Linked DNA regions of Homo sapiens: all the other regions are linked to region 1. The links are contacts of gene promoters, found by promoter capture Hi-C in blood cells and fetal thymus (Javierre and others, 2016). All regions are on one chromosome and are shown on one strand. Each heading gives the region's core, a stretch centred on a gene start or on the middle of the fragment in contact. The rest is flanking DNA. Distances are from core to core; before and after follow the strand shown.

Region 1 (2,709 bases), core at 76-2,575:
AAAAGTGGAGCCAGGAAAAATTCGTCGGCATCCTCCACAGCCTTACAATCCGCACAATGCCAGTTCCAGGGTCCTGGGGTCGCCCGGAAGGCAATCTTAGGAGAGGGTGGAATGAGATGGAAGTTCCTGCGGACCTACCGATCCTATTCTCTCCCACCCAGTCCCTAGGGAAGCGTAATAGGAAGGGGAGAAGGTTCGTTATGAAATCCTGGGGCCAGAACCAAGGGCAGATACACCCCGGGGACTTTCTCCTAAAGAACAAGATGTCTTTCCAAATTCTCCACCTGCAGGTCCTGTCCTCTGTGAAGATGAACGGGGTGGGGTGGTGAGGTGGCGGGGTGTTGTAAACCTGAGGAAAGGTTGGAGGGAAAATCAAGCCACCCACCTACTCCAGCCACGTTGCCCGGCGGTGTTGGTGAGGCTCGATGCCGGCGTGCACGGCAAGCGCGAATTCGGAACCTGGCGCCCTTGACCAAGCCTGAGATCGGAAAGGGGGCATCGCCCAGGGCCAGCGCCCTGGGGGCAGGGTGCCGTGCCCGCCAGAAAAGCTCGCCTCAGTTTTGGCAGTAATGATTTTCCTAGAAGATGCCAGAGTTCGCGAAGATCGGAGTGATTCGCGGATTTCTGCGCTCAAGCTAGAGGCGCAGCGACCCCGAGCTCCCCCACACTGGGAGCCTCGGGGCAGCATTCTCGGGGCCCATGCCATCGCGGGGACGGTGCGGAAAAAAAGGCTCCATCCTCAACTTTCTCGGAGGAAATCGCTCCGTTCTGCGGCTTGCCCAATACTGCCCGCACAACGGGTCCCAGGGTTGGAGAGAACCAGGGACACGAGTCCCTCTCTGCGCGCACAAAGCAGCTGCGCCGGGGCGCGCGGCCCCCTCTCCCGCCACCCGCCAACTTGGAAGAATCTCTCTGGGAGCCTGCCTACTCCCCTGGCCTCACAGCCACCCGCCTCGGACGGAGCGCCAGGCGCCCCAACAGCCGTGGCGGCTGCAACCGCATCTCCCGGGCTTGGCCTCCGCCCTGACCGCCTGGCTCCCCTCGCCCCGGTCCTACCGTGCAGCCTGGCTCGCGCCCCTGCCGTGCCAGTGCGCGGCACGCGTCCCAGAGCACGAGGCTCCTCCCCGGGGGGCTGCCCCGCGCGGGGCTCCGGGCTCCGGACAAGGCTTAGCCGGCCCGGGTGCTGGCTCGCCGCCGCTCGCGGCTCCCGCGCCGGCTCCTGCTGCCGCGCGCGAAAAGGGAGGGGTTGGGGGGAAACTCCCGGCAACTCCAACTCCGGGCGCTGGAGCTCCAGCTGCAGCCGCGCGCCCGCCCGCCGCCGAGTGCGAGCGCCTGCGAAGCAAACCTGCCCGCGCGGCCGCCTCTGAGCATGCTCAGTGCCGCCGTGGGCGAGCCCGAGCGCCCTGGCCCGGGGCAAAGAGCAGCGGCTAGGGGCTGGGGGCTGGGGGCCGGGACCCGCGACCCGCCCCAGGCCTCGGAGCGCGGAGGTGGCAGAGGAAGGGAAAGGCCAATGTAGGGGCGGGGGCCCTGAGCCAAAGACCCGGGAGAAACCGATCTGGGTGCAAGAGCCGGTGCGACTTTCACGGCTTGTGGGAAGTTTGTGGGCTAGAAAGGTGGGCTGCTTCTGTGAGCTTCTCTGTGAGACTATATTCGAAAGGACAACCAGGAAACATTTTTTTTTTTCTCTAGGAAAAAACGAATAGACCCAGCCGATGGGTTTTTATCCTGTGCGCTCCTTCCTTTATTCTTACGATAGCAAACTCAAAGATCTAATGGGGCCTGACAGGCACTGTAACTGGGGGAAGGCGAACTGGAGAGAGCTCCGAAGGCAGGGCCGCTTATCTGCTCTCAGGGTCCCTTGCTATCGGGCAAGAATTAGACCTAGTGTTGCTAGATTTTCTGATTTTTCCAGAAATGACGGAGTATATTCATGTACAATATCCTGATTTGTAAAATCTTGATAACAAATTCAATTTTCTCAAAACACCCTGGACTAAACAAAACATATCTGCGTCCCCTCCCTGCTGAACCCCCCAGACAGTGATTTGAGCATTGTGATTCTGCACTCTTTTAGCGAAGTGGTGCTGAGTGCTCACTGTGGTTTGGGAAAGTGCTGGAAAGGATCCAAGATGATTCAGAATATCTTCGAAGTACTACTAGTTACTAGGGGAAATGGGTTTTCCTGACAGTAGAGCGCTACACTTAAATGCTGGAGCGTTCAAGAAGAAAGACGTTACTAATGTAGAAAGCGGTTGTAAGAACTAACTTTTGGGAAACATCATTAGTAAAAGTATCTGTGTGGGGAGTCACTGCAGGGCCGATAACAGTGCCCCGGAAGGCACTTTTGAGCCTGAAGCAATAGGAAAAACCCCTAAACTTACCCTGTCTTTATTTAAAATTTTGTTATTTTTCATCATGCATTTTTGATATTAATTTTGATTTTTTTAAATATTCCATTAAAATATTAACCTTGATTACTGAATTCTTTGGTGAACCTTTAAGTGCTGTGACTCACCTCACCCTAGCCTGGCCCTGTTGGGGTGTTAGATGGTGGTACACAGACCTGCTTGTTTGGAGTGCAAGGGGTAAGCATTAGCATAGTGAAATAGGAAAGAGGGTTTGAGCTGTGGATGGGGGCTCAGGCAGAAGTCCTGACTGTCAGTCTGTGGCTCCTGCACTTAGTTTGTAGACTACGTGGAGATAGCAGAG
Region 2 (2,709 bases), core at 76-2,575, 410 kb before region 1:
GTGTTGGGAACCTTCAAAATCCTCTCTTCTAGTTCTTTGAAAATATACTATAAATTATTGTTACCTATATTCACTCTACAGTGCTATAGAGCAGTAGAACTCATTCCTCTTATCTAACTGTAACTTGAATCCATTAGCCAACCTCTCCTTCCCTTCCTCTATCCCTTTCCCAGCTTCTAATAATTCTACTCTCTACTTCCACAATTCTACTCTCTGCTTCTATGACTTCATTTTTTTTTTTTTTTTAGATGGAGTCTTACTGTGTCACCCAGGCTGGAGTGCAGTGGCATGATCTCAGCTCACTGCAACCTCTGCCTCCTGGGTCCAAGCGATTCTCCTGCCTCAACCTACTGAGTAGCTGGGATTACAGGTGCCCACCACCGCACCCGGCTAATTTTTGTATTTTTAATAGAGACAGGGTTTCATCATGTTGGCGAGGCTGGTTTTGAACTCCTGACCTCAGGTGATCTGCCTGCCTCGGCCTCCCAAAGTGCTGGGATTACAGGCCTAAGCCACCGCGCCCGGCCTATGACCTCAATTTTTTTTTTTGGCTCCTATATATGAGTTAGAAAGTGGTATTTATGTTTCTGTGTCTGAATTATTTCACTTAGCATAATGACCTCCAGTTCCATCCATGTTGCTGCAAATGACAGGATTTTCTTCTTTTCATGGCTGAATAGTACTCCATTGTGTCTGTATACTACATTTTCTTTAGCCATTCATCTGTTGATAGTCACTTAAATGATTTCATATCTTGGCTATTGTGAATAGTGCTGTGATAGTTTTCATTTCCAAGATGGTAGATTAAAGTCATTGTTAGCATGCCTCTCTTATTTGGAAAGACAAAATAGTGTGTAGAGATTCACGCTGTGAACTTTTTTTCCAGGAAGCAACACAGGAGCTTAAGAGGAAAATTGAAAGAAACCACAGACCCTTTGAAAGAAGTGGCAAACTGCAGCTTACACCATGAGCCAGGCAGAAAACTCTGAGTCCTCAGAGTGTGAAAGGAAGAGAAACTGCCTCTGGGATATGCACTCCCACTGGGGAACCTGGCAATCCAGGCCACGGGGAAGACCTTAACCCTACCCAGTGCTGGAGCTGATTTAATGAGCTGAGGGGAGTATATGAGAAGGAGCAGCTTCAGGATGTGCTTTGCTTGCACTCCTAGACTCTACTGGGGACAGAGGGAAGCCATTCCTGATCCTACCTCACAGAGGACCATGCAGAAGTCAGCCAACTAGCTCAGGCGGTGGCCATGGGCTGAGAGGAGTGAGAAGCTCCCAACTGAGATTCACAATATAATCTCTAGCAGGGATGGACCTCCTTGACCAGAACTGAGGGGCAAGTGGGAAGTGCGCTGTGCCCACAGGTGTAGGAGCTGGGTGCCCCTGCTTCGCTAGCAGATCAGGAGGGGCATGGCCTGAGCAGTTTTTGTCTTGGCAGCCAGAGAAGGCTTATGGTCTGGGACAGTTTTGAGTGCTGAATGCAGCCTGCTTGCAACCTAGATGGCCGCTGCCAGTAGAACACTGTGGGTCTGAGACCTGTCTTGCCAAGTGCATAGGGGCTGAGTGGGGCTTACTGCCACCTGTACTCCCCACTTCCTGTGTGGACTCTTCTGTGCGGCAGGGGCAACTGCACTCCTCCCTGGAACATTATCCCAGCATCCAGAGAACTGCCCTCTGATCCCCACTGGGCCACTGATTGCACCTGCACGTGGATAGCCAGAGCGCGAACTTGCCTGACTCAGCCCCGACCTGGTTTGCCTTTTTACCCACCCTGGTAGCTTAACACAAAGGACAGAAACTTTCGGGAGTGTTATGGACCTGCCCATTGCTTGAGACACCAGAGTACCTCCCCTGGTCACATAAGCCAAGCATGAATTCCACCACTACTACTGCAGTCAGTGCTCTTTCGCACCAACTGCACCTCCTGGCTATAGGCCAATCAACATAGTCCATTACAACATCTGTAGGCAGAATAACACAGCACTGGGAAGGAGAAAACTTTTGCATGACTACAGCTACCACCATTGCCTGCATCACCCTGGCTAACCAGGAGGTCTTGAGTCTGTTCACATGACCAGATCATTACTACTACAACTGAAATTAGAGAAAGCCAGCACACTAAGGCTATTTGTAACCAAAGAATCTCACAGAGTTTACTTTACTCCTCTGCCAGCCCCATCAGAGCTGGTGCTGGTACCCACTGCTGGGAGACTTGAGGATAAGTCACATCGCTGGACCCTTTGCAGACATTCCCTAGCACAGGCCTGGAATGTAGCAGCCCCATTGGGTGGCCAGATCCAGAGCCGCAGCAGCAATCATAGTAGTCTGGCACTCAGGGACTCCTACTCCTAGGGTAAGCAGGAGTGCACCACATGAAGGGAGCACCCTGTGGGACAAAGGAATCCAGATGGCAGGCTTTGAGTCTCAGAACTTTACAATTGTGGGAAATTTCTTTCAGCAGAGAGACAGGTGCAGTGCTGGGCTCAGTGGGGAAGTCTGTGGCTCTACCTCACCAGTCAGGCAGCCCTGGTGCTTGTGAAGGGTCTTGGAGAATAGGACTTCTCCCCCTCATGCACCACTGCTGACACAGCTGGGGTTTCTCACAAAGGAACTCGGCATGAGTGCACCTGTAGACAGCCTTTCTGGGACCCTTCAGGTGACTGCATTCCCACAGGACAAGTGCCCTCCAGGCTCAGGCTTGTAT
Region 3 (2,709 bases), core at 89-2,588, 350 kb before region 1:
AGAAGCACATGAATCTGGAGCTCACAAGGGAGTTCTGTGCTAAATATACACATCCATGAGTCACTGAGACGAGCCCCAGGGAAGAGTAAAGTTGAGGCCTAGATTATAACCCAGCACACTACCATATTTCAAGGTCCTGTAAAGAAGGGAGACCCACAAAAGAACAAGGAGGAAAAAAGAAAAAAACAGAACTATGGAGTTAACGAAAGGGGTGGAAAAAAAGAGGGACTATGTAACTAATGTGAAGACATCAGGTAAAATGAGGGTTGAAAAGTGATTTAGGTTCTCAAGGGCATGAGTGGTCTTAGCAGGGGCCATTTCAGTGCTGTGGTGGGTAGAGACATTATGTTACAGTGAGTGGAGGAGTGAGGGAGTATAGGGTCAGTGAGTGGCAGAATGAGTGGACAATGAGTGAGCGAAAAGAAAGTGCATGGAAGAGTGAGTGAGTGGAGGAGTGAGTGAGTGGAAGAGTGAGTGGAGGAGTGAGTGGAGAAGTGAGTGAGTGGGGGAGTGAGTGAGTGGGGGAGTGAGTGAGTGGAGGAGTGAGTGAGTGGAAGAGTGAGTGGAGGAGTGAGTGGAGAAGTGAGTGAGTGGGGGAGTGAGTGAGTGGGGGAGTGAGTGAGTGGAGGAGTGAGTGAGTGGAAGAGTGAGTGGAGGAGTGAGTGGAGAAGTGAGTGAGTGGGGGAGTGAGTGAGTGGGGGAGTGAGTGAGTGGAGGAGTGAGTGAGTGGAAGAGTGAGTGGAGGAGTGAGTGAGTGGAGAAGTGAGTGGGGGAGTGAGTGAGCAGAGGAGTGAGTGAGTGGAAGGTGAGTGAGTGGAGGAGTGAGTGGAACGTGAGTGAGTGGAGGAGTGAGTGGAAGGTGAGTGAGTGGAAGGTGAGTGAGTGGAAGGTGAGTGAGTGGAAGGTGAATGAGTGGGGGAGTGAGTGAGTGGAAGGTGAGTGAGTGGAGGAGTGAGTGAGTGGAGGAGTGAGTGGAAGGTGAGTGAATGGAAGGTGAGTGAGTGGAAGGTGAGTGAGTGGAAGGTGAGTGAGTGAGTGAGTGGAAGGTGAGTGAGTGGAGGAATGAGTAAGTGCAGGAGTGAGTGAGTGGAGGAGTGAGTGACTGGAAGGTGAGTGAGTGGAAAGTGAGTGAGTGGAGGAGTGAGTGAGTGGAAGGTGAGTCAGTAGGGGAGTGAGTGAGTGGAAGGTGAGTGAGTGGAAGGTGAGTGAGTGGAGGAGTGAGTAACTGGAGGAGTGAGTGAGCGGAGGAGTGAGTGAATTGAAGATGAGTGAGTGGAAGGTGAGTGAGTGGAAGGTGAGTGAGTGGAGGAGTGAGTGAGTGGAAAATGAGTGAGTGAAAGATTAGTGAGTGAAGGAGTGAGTGATTGGAACATGAGTGAGTGGAGAAGTGAGTGATGAAAGGTGAGTTAGTGGGGGAGTGAGTGAGTGGAAGGTGAGTGAGTGGAAGATGAGTGAGTGGAACGTAAGTGAGTGGAAGATAAGTGAGTGGAAGGTGAGTGAGTGGAACGTGAGTGAGTGGAAGATGAGTGAGTGGAAGGTGAGTGAGTGGAGGAGTGAGTGAGTGGAAAATGAGTGAGTGGAAGATGAGTGAGTGGAGGAGTGAGTGAGTGGAAGATGAGTGAGTGGAGGAGTGAGTGATGGAAGGTGAGTGAGTGGGGGAGTGAGTGAGTGGAAGGTGAGTGAGTGGAAGGTGAGTGAGTGGAGGAATGAGTAACTGGAGGAGTGAGTGAGTGGAGGAGTGAGTGAGTGGAAGATGAGTGAGTGGAAGATGAGTGAGTGGAGGAGTGAGTGAGTGGAAGGTGAATGAGCGAGTGGAGGAGTAAGTGGAAGGTTAGTGAGTGGAAGAAGTGTGTGGAGACAAAGATTGCTGACAAGAACTCATAGTATTTCGCTGTGTTGTGCGGGATCTCCATGCTGAGAAAGATGTAGTGTCCCTGTAGGCTGCATGGTAAGCCACGGTTTCAGGCAGGCGCACAGGTGTGCCCGGTGGAGAGTAGTGGTTTTTCAGCCACCAGTACGGACTGATTCTTCGGTAACAAAACTTGCTCCTGTTGACTCCTATCCTGTGTTAATTTTTAAAAGTTTTCCTAATGACTGCTGAATGAGTAATACTCTGGGTCAGATTTTTTTTTTTTTTTTTTTTTTTTTTTTTTTTTTTGATGGCGTCTGGCTCTGTCACCCAGGCTGGAGTGCAGTGGCGCGATCTCAGCTCACTGCAAGCCCCTCCTCCCAGGTTCACTTCATTCTCCTGCCTCAGCCTCCCAAGTAGCTGGGACTACAGGCGCCCGCCACCACGCCCGGCTAATTTTTTGTATTTTTAGTAGAGACGGGCTTTCACTGTGTTAGCCAGGATGGTCTGGATCTCCTGACCTCGTGATCCGCCCGTGTCGGCCTCGCAAAGTGTTGGGATTACAGGAGTGAACCACCGCACCCGGCCCTATTCTGGGTCAAATTTTACAATTTTTCTTCTGGTTGGACCTGTCTGTCTTATACATAACTGATGGTTTTGGCTCCCTATAATAATGTAGAATTCATGTCTATATTTCCGTTTCAGGCCTTTTGGTCCATAAGAAAATCTGTTGTTTTAGATAAGCGAAGTGAAGACTATGCTGAGGTTATGTGCGTGCATTTAATTAATGTGTAGCATCTCGTTTTGTGGCACTTAGGAAAAAGCCGCATGAAGAGGAGGGTATTTTAGGAAATCTAAGA
Region 4 (2,709 bases), core at 57-2,556, 290 kb before region 1:
CAATAAACATACGTGTGCATGTGTCTTTATAGTAGCATGATTTATAATCCTTTGGGTATATACCCAGTAATGGGATCGTTGGGTCAAATGGTATTTCTAGATCTAGATCCTTGAGGAATCGCCACACTGTCTTCCACAATGGTTGAACTAGTTTCCACTCCCACCAACAGTGTAAAAGCATTCCTATTTCTCCACATCCTCTCCAGCATCTGTTGTTTCGTGACTTTTTAATGCTCGCCATTCTAACTGTTGTGAGATGGAATCTCATTGTTGTTTTGATTTACATTTCTCTGATGGCCAGTGATGATGAGCGGTTTTTTGTGTGTCTGTTGGCTGCATAAATGTCTTCTTTTGAGAAGTATCTGTTCATATCCTTTGCCCACTTTTTGATGGGATTGTTTGTTTTTTCTTGTAAATTTGTTTAAGTTTTTTGTAGATTCTGGATATTAGCCCTTTGTCAGATGGATAGATTGCAAAAATTTTCTCCCATTCTCTAGGTTGCCTGTTCACTCTGATGGTAGTTTCTTCTGCTGTGCAGAAGCTCTTTAGTTTAATTAGATCCCATTTGTCAATTTTGGCTTTTGTTACCATTGCTTTTGGTGTTTTAGACATGAAGTCCTTGTCCATGCATATGTCCTGAATGGTATTGCCTAGGTTTTTCTTCTAGGGTTTTTATGATTTTAGGTCTAACATTTAAGTCTTTAATCTATCTTGAATTAATTTTTGTATAAGGTGTAAGGAAGGGATCCAGTTTCAGCTTTCCACATATGGCTATCCAGTTTTCCCAGCACCATTTCTTAAATAGGGAATCCTTTCCCTATTGCTTGTTTTTGTCAGGTTTGTAAAAGATTAGATGGTTGTAGATGTGTGATGTTATTTCTGAGGCCTCTGCTCTGTTCCATTGGTCTACATCTTTATTTTGGTAACAGTACCATGCTGTTTTGGTTACTGTAGCCTTGTAGCATAGTTTGAAGTCAGGTAGCTTGATGCCTCCAGCTTTGTTCTTTTGGCTTAGGATTGACTTGGCAATGCGGGCTCCTTTTTGGTTCCATATGAACTTTAAAGTAGTTTTTTCCAATTCTGTGAAGAAAGTCATTGGTAGCTTGATGGGGATGGCATTGAATCTATAAATTACCTTGGGCAGTGTGGCCATTTTCACAATATTGATTCTTCCTACCCATGAGCATGGAATGTTCTTCCATTTGTTTGTGTCCTCTTTTATTTCCTTGAGCAGTGGTTTGTAGTTCTCCTTGAAGAGGTCCTTCACATCCCTTGTAAGTTGGATTCCTAGGTATTTTATTCTCTTTGTAGCAGTTGTGAATGGGAGTTTACTCATGATTTGGCTCTCAGTTTGTCTGTTATTGGTGTATAAGAATGCTTGCGATTTTTGTACATTGATTTTGTATGCTGAGACTTTGCTGAAGTTGCTTATCAGCTTAAGGAGATTTTGGGCCGAGACGATGGGGTTTTCTAAATATGCAATCATGTCATCTGCAAACAGGGACAATTTGACTTCCTCTTTTCCTAATTGAATACCCTTTATTTCTTTCTTTTGCCTGATTGCCCTGGCCAGAACTTCCAACACTATGTTGAATAGGAGTGATGAGAGAGGGCATCCCTGTCTTGTGCCAGTTTTCAAAGGGAATGCTTCCAGTTTTTGCCCCTTCAGTATGATACTGGCTATGGGTTTGTCACAAATAGCTCTTATTATTTTGAGATACGTTCCATCAATACCTAGTTTATTGAGAGTTTTTAGCATGAAGCACTGTTGAATTTTGTCTAAGGTCTTTTCTGCCTCTATTGAGATAATCATGTGGTTTTTATCATTGGTTCTTTTTATGTGATGTATTACATTTATTGATTTGTGTATATTGAACCAGCCTTGCATCCCAGGGATGAAGCCCACTTGATCATGTTTGATAGCTTTTTGATGTGCTGCTGGATTCGGTTTGCCAGTATTTTAAAATTTGAACTCATGATTAAGAAACTCACTCAAAACCACTAAACTACATGGAAACTGAACAACCTGCTCCTGAATGACTACTGGGTACATAATGAAATGAAGGCAGAAATAAAGATGTTCTTCAAAACCAATGAGAACAAAGACACAACGCACCAGAATCTCTGGGACACATTTAAAGCAGTGTGTGGAAGGAAATTTATAGCACTAAATGCCCACAAGAGAAAGTAGGGAAGATCTAAAATCAATACCCTAACATCACAATTAAAAGAACTAGAGAAGCAAGAGCAAACGCATTCGAAAGCTAGCAGAAGACAAGAAATAACTAAAATTAGAGCAGAACTGAAGGAGCTAGAGACACAAAAAACCCTTCAAAAAATCAATGAATCCAGGAGCTGGTTTTTCGAAAAGATCAACAAAATTGATAGACTGCTAGCAAGACTAATAAAGAAGAAAAGAGAGAGGAATCAAATAGATGCAGTAAAAAATGATAAAGGGGATATCACCACTGATCCCACAGAAATACAAACTACCATCAGAGAATACTGTAAACTCCTCTTTGTGAATAAACTAGAAAATCTAGAGGAAATGGATAAATTCCTGGACACATACACCCTCCCAAGACTAAACCAGGAAGAAGTTGAATCCCTGAATAGAACAATAACAGGCTCTGAAATTGAGGCAATAATTAATAGCCTACCAAACAAAAAAATTCCAGGACCAGATAGATTTACAGCCGAATTCTATCA
Region 5 (2,709 bases), core at 60-2,559, 270 kb before region 1:
GTAACAAACCTGCATATTCTGCACATGTATCCCAGAACTTAAAGTATAATAGTAATAAAATAAAAAAAAGTGCTGTGTGGTTAGAGAGAGATCTATATGCCTGTATTATTTAGGAAAACTGTTAAAAATGCTCAAACAATCAGGGAGTAAATATCACTGTTAAGAAGGAGAAAAGGGAGGACTCAAAAATGTTGCCTGTTATAAGGTCAATTTTAGCCCTGAATCTGGATGTTTACATGTATGTGAGTGTGTATAGAGATCCATTTTCGCAGAAGGCCAATAAACTTTAAAGACTGATAAGATAACAAAAAAATCCTGTGTTGATTTTGGGGATTGAATATGAGCCAGAAGGAAATATCTGGTGAAGAGGAGAGGTCAGCACTCATGGAGCTAGATGTTCGCTGGGGCTAGGATTAGTGAATAAGTTACTTCGGAAATTACATACACAGATGTTTCCTGCCTAAATGGTGACCTAATATGTGATGCTGGCTCCTTCCTCTGAACCAACCCCAAAGTTGTCATATAAACAAGTTGGATGCATCTAATAACACAGCATAAAACCCCCACAAAAGGTAAAAAGATACTGGTGAGGCAGACGGTGATTGGGTCTCAGGGTATGTAATGATGGGGCAGGGGTGGGGGCAGTGAGTGTGAAGAGGGGTAGAGGATCTGGTGCCAAGATTGGGAACAGACTACAGAAAAGAGTTTTCTGGTTATATCTTGATCATTCTCTCACATTGCTACAAGCAGAAAATTTCTTGCCAGGCAGAAAAACAGCCCTGCTGGCTTAGCAGCAGCTAGAAGCATCAGGGTAACGTCAGAGCAGTGTTAGAGCCCACCTGGGTGGAGAGCAGATAAAACTGGGTCAGGCAGAAGTCCTGATGCCTTCAGCACCCATGCTCTTAATCTTTATACTATGGAATGCGAAGGGCTGGAGAAAGAGGGACCCTCTCTCATATACTCACTATCAGCCAAGGCAGTTGATATTCTCAGGTCCCTCTTCTCCAGCCCTCCCCACTCTGTAGTATAGAGATTAAGAACATGGGCTCTGAAGCTAAACTGCCTAGATTTTAATGCTGTCCCCATCATTTACTTCTCTGTGACTTCAGGAAACTTCCTTTTTTTCTCTGTTTCTCATCTCTAAAGTGGCCATAATATTACCCACCTTTTAGGTGGTTTAAAAGATGCAATACATGTAAAAGTACTTAAAACTGAAACTGATACATACTAAGTGCTCAAGCAGTCTTAGCTACTATTCTGAAAACTGGAGGATGTAGTTTGAGGGGCGAAGTAACTTATTTGGGAGTTGGGGAGTATCTAGGAAATGGTGCCCAGAAATTTTGTTTTCTTGCACCGTGCCAGCTCCCAAACTCACCAGCGGAGGCATAAGCAAGGACCTCAGCCTTCGGCCCTGAGCAAGGACCCTTTCTTTCATAAGCCCACTATCAGCCAAGGCAGTTGATATTCTCAGGGTAATATGAGTCTTAGAGAAAAGGTGACAATATATCTGCACCCTCAAATAAAGCAACAAAAGGAAACCAGAAAGCAAAGACTCAGACTTAATAAACCAGACAGAACCAAATTTAAAATAAGTATAGGAAGTACTCTATACTAGGATAATATGGTATAAGATAATATCCTATACTAGGGTAACGGAGGATTCTGGAGACAGGAAGCAAAAACAGTCAAAGAAAAACTGACTGAAGATGCTAGGAATGAAAAATATAATTGTTAACATAAGGAACTCAACAGATCACTTGAGAACAAAACAGAATGCACGTAGTCATGAAATGAACACATAAAGTAAAAAATCAGGTCAAGAACCCTCCCACAGAGATTAAAACAGTTAAACAAACTATCCAAGTAAAAGTTAAGAGACATGAAGGAGAAAAATAGAAGTTAATATTTGTATGTTAGGGGTCTCAGAGGGAGAGAGCAAAAATAAGTATCGGTGAGAAAATACTTTGAAAAGTCATCAAGATTTTTTCAGAATTAAAGGATGATGTGGTAGATTTTGCAAAAATGGCCCCCACGTTGTTTCACCTCCCTACAGCCATGCGCGTTGGTAGTCCTCTCCCAGACCACATTCTAGGCGTAGCCAGGTGACTTGTTTTAGCCAATGAGAAAAGGGCAAAATTGACGCAAGCAGAGATTTGAAAAGGGCGGCACACTGGGACTTACCATCTTTTGTTGCTTTCTGAAGCTGAGCCACTCTGTGAGTGAGCCCAAGCTAGCCAGATGGATGATGAGAAACACATGGCCCAGTGGCCCTCATTCTTTTATTATTCGCTGACTGCCAATTGACACTAGAAGCAGAGCCATTTAGCTGACAAGTAGCTGACTGTGAAGAGCCACGAGCAGAACCCAGCCCAAATTGTTAACCCATAGAATCACAGAAAACGAAAAGGTTGCTTGTTAAGCCACCAAGTTCTGGCATGTTTATTATACAGCAACGGAAAGCTGATATACAATATGTTAATATCTCAGGCTGAAAGGGCTTGTAGAGTGCTAAACAAGATGGATTTTAGAAATACATACACATTTAGAAGAAGAACACAAAAGACAAAGAAAAAATTCTAAATTCTTTTCGGTAAAAGAAAAAAGCAGATCATCTTCAAAGGAAAAATAATCAGATTGACATCAGAAGTCTCAGTAACCCTGGATATAGCAGAACTCATGATATTTTTCAAGCATTAAAAAGAAAGGGAA

The links. The method cuts DNA at HindIII sites, captures the fragments that hold promoters and counts their contacts. A CHiCAGO score of 5 or more calls a contact.
Region 2: a fragment that was not itself captured here is called in contact with the fragment with the promoter of STXBP6 in region 1 in 1 of 17 cell types (monocytes); the score reaches 5.2 in monocytes.
Region 3: a contact is called between a fragment that was not itself captured here and the fragment with the promoter of STXBP6 in region 1, in 3 of 17 cell types (monocytes, M1 macrophages and M0 macrophages). The highest score is 7.4, in monocytes.
Region 4: a fragment that was not itself captured here is called in contact with the fragment with the promoter of STXBP6 in region 1 in 4 of 17 cell types (M1 macrophages, M0 macrophages, monocytes and 1 more); the score reaches 8.2 in M1 macrophages.
Region 5: a fragment that was not itself captured here is called in contact with the fragment with the promoter of STXBP6 in region 1 in 2 of 17 cell types (M2 macrophages and endothelial precursors); the score reaches 5.2 in M2 macrophages.

Annotation. Positions count from the first base shown.
Region 1 is chr14:25,048,822-25,051,530 of GRCh38, forward strand. It overlaps STXBP6 (syntaxin binding protein 6), which reads right to left and starts at 1,326. Exons shown (of 6, transcript NM_001394410.1): 1 at 1,057-1,326. LOC124903295 (a long non-coding RNA gene) reads left to right here and starts at 1,523. Exons shown (of 2, transcript XR_007064091.1): 1 at 1,523-1,613. The HindIII fragment of the contact is 7,485 bases long and covers 1-2,709 here.
Region 2 is chr14:24,642,379-24,645,087 of GRCh38, forward strand. It overlaps GZMH-AS1 (GZMH and GMZB antisense RNA 1), which reads left to right. Exons shown (of 3, transcript XR_007064087.1): 3 at 887-2,709. Among named protein-coding and RNA genes, the nearest start is that of GZMB, 9.5 kb to the left of the region's middle. The HindIII fragment of the contact is 5,423 bases long and covers 1-2,709 here.
Region 3 is chr14:24,695,688-24,698,396 of GRCh38, forward strand. No RefSeq gene overlaps it. Among named protein-coding and RNA genes, the nearest start is that of GZMB, 63 kb to the left of the region's middle. The HindIII fragment of the contact is 3,642 bases long and covers 1-2,709 here.
Region 4 is chr14:24,754,255-24,756,963 of GRCh38, forward strand. No RefSeq gene overlaps it. Among named protein-coding and RNA genes, the nearest start is that of GZMB, 120 kb to the left of the region's middle. The HindIII fragment of the contact is 5,821 bases long and covers 1-2,709 here.
Region 5 is chr14:24,773,949-24,776,657 of GRCh38, forward strand. No RefSeq gene overlaps it. Among named protein-coding and RNA genes, the nearest start is that of GZMB, 140 kb to the left of the region's middle. The HindIII fragment of the contact is 4,019 bases long and covers 1-2,709 here.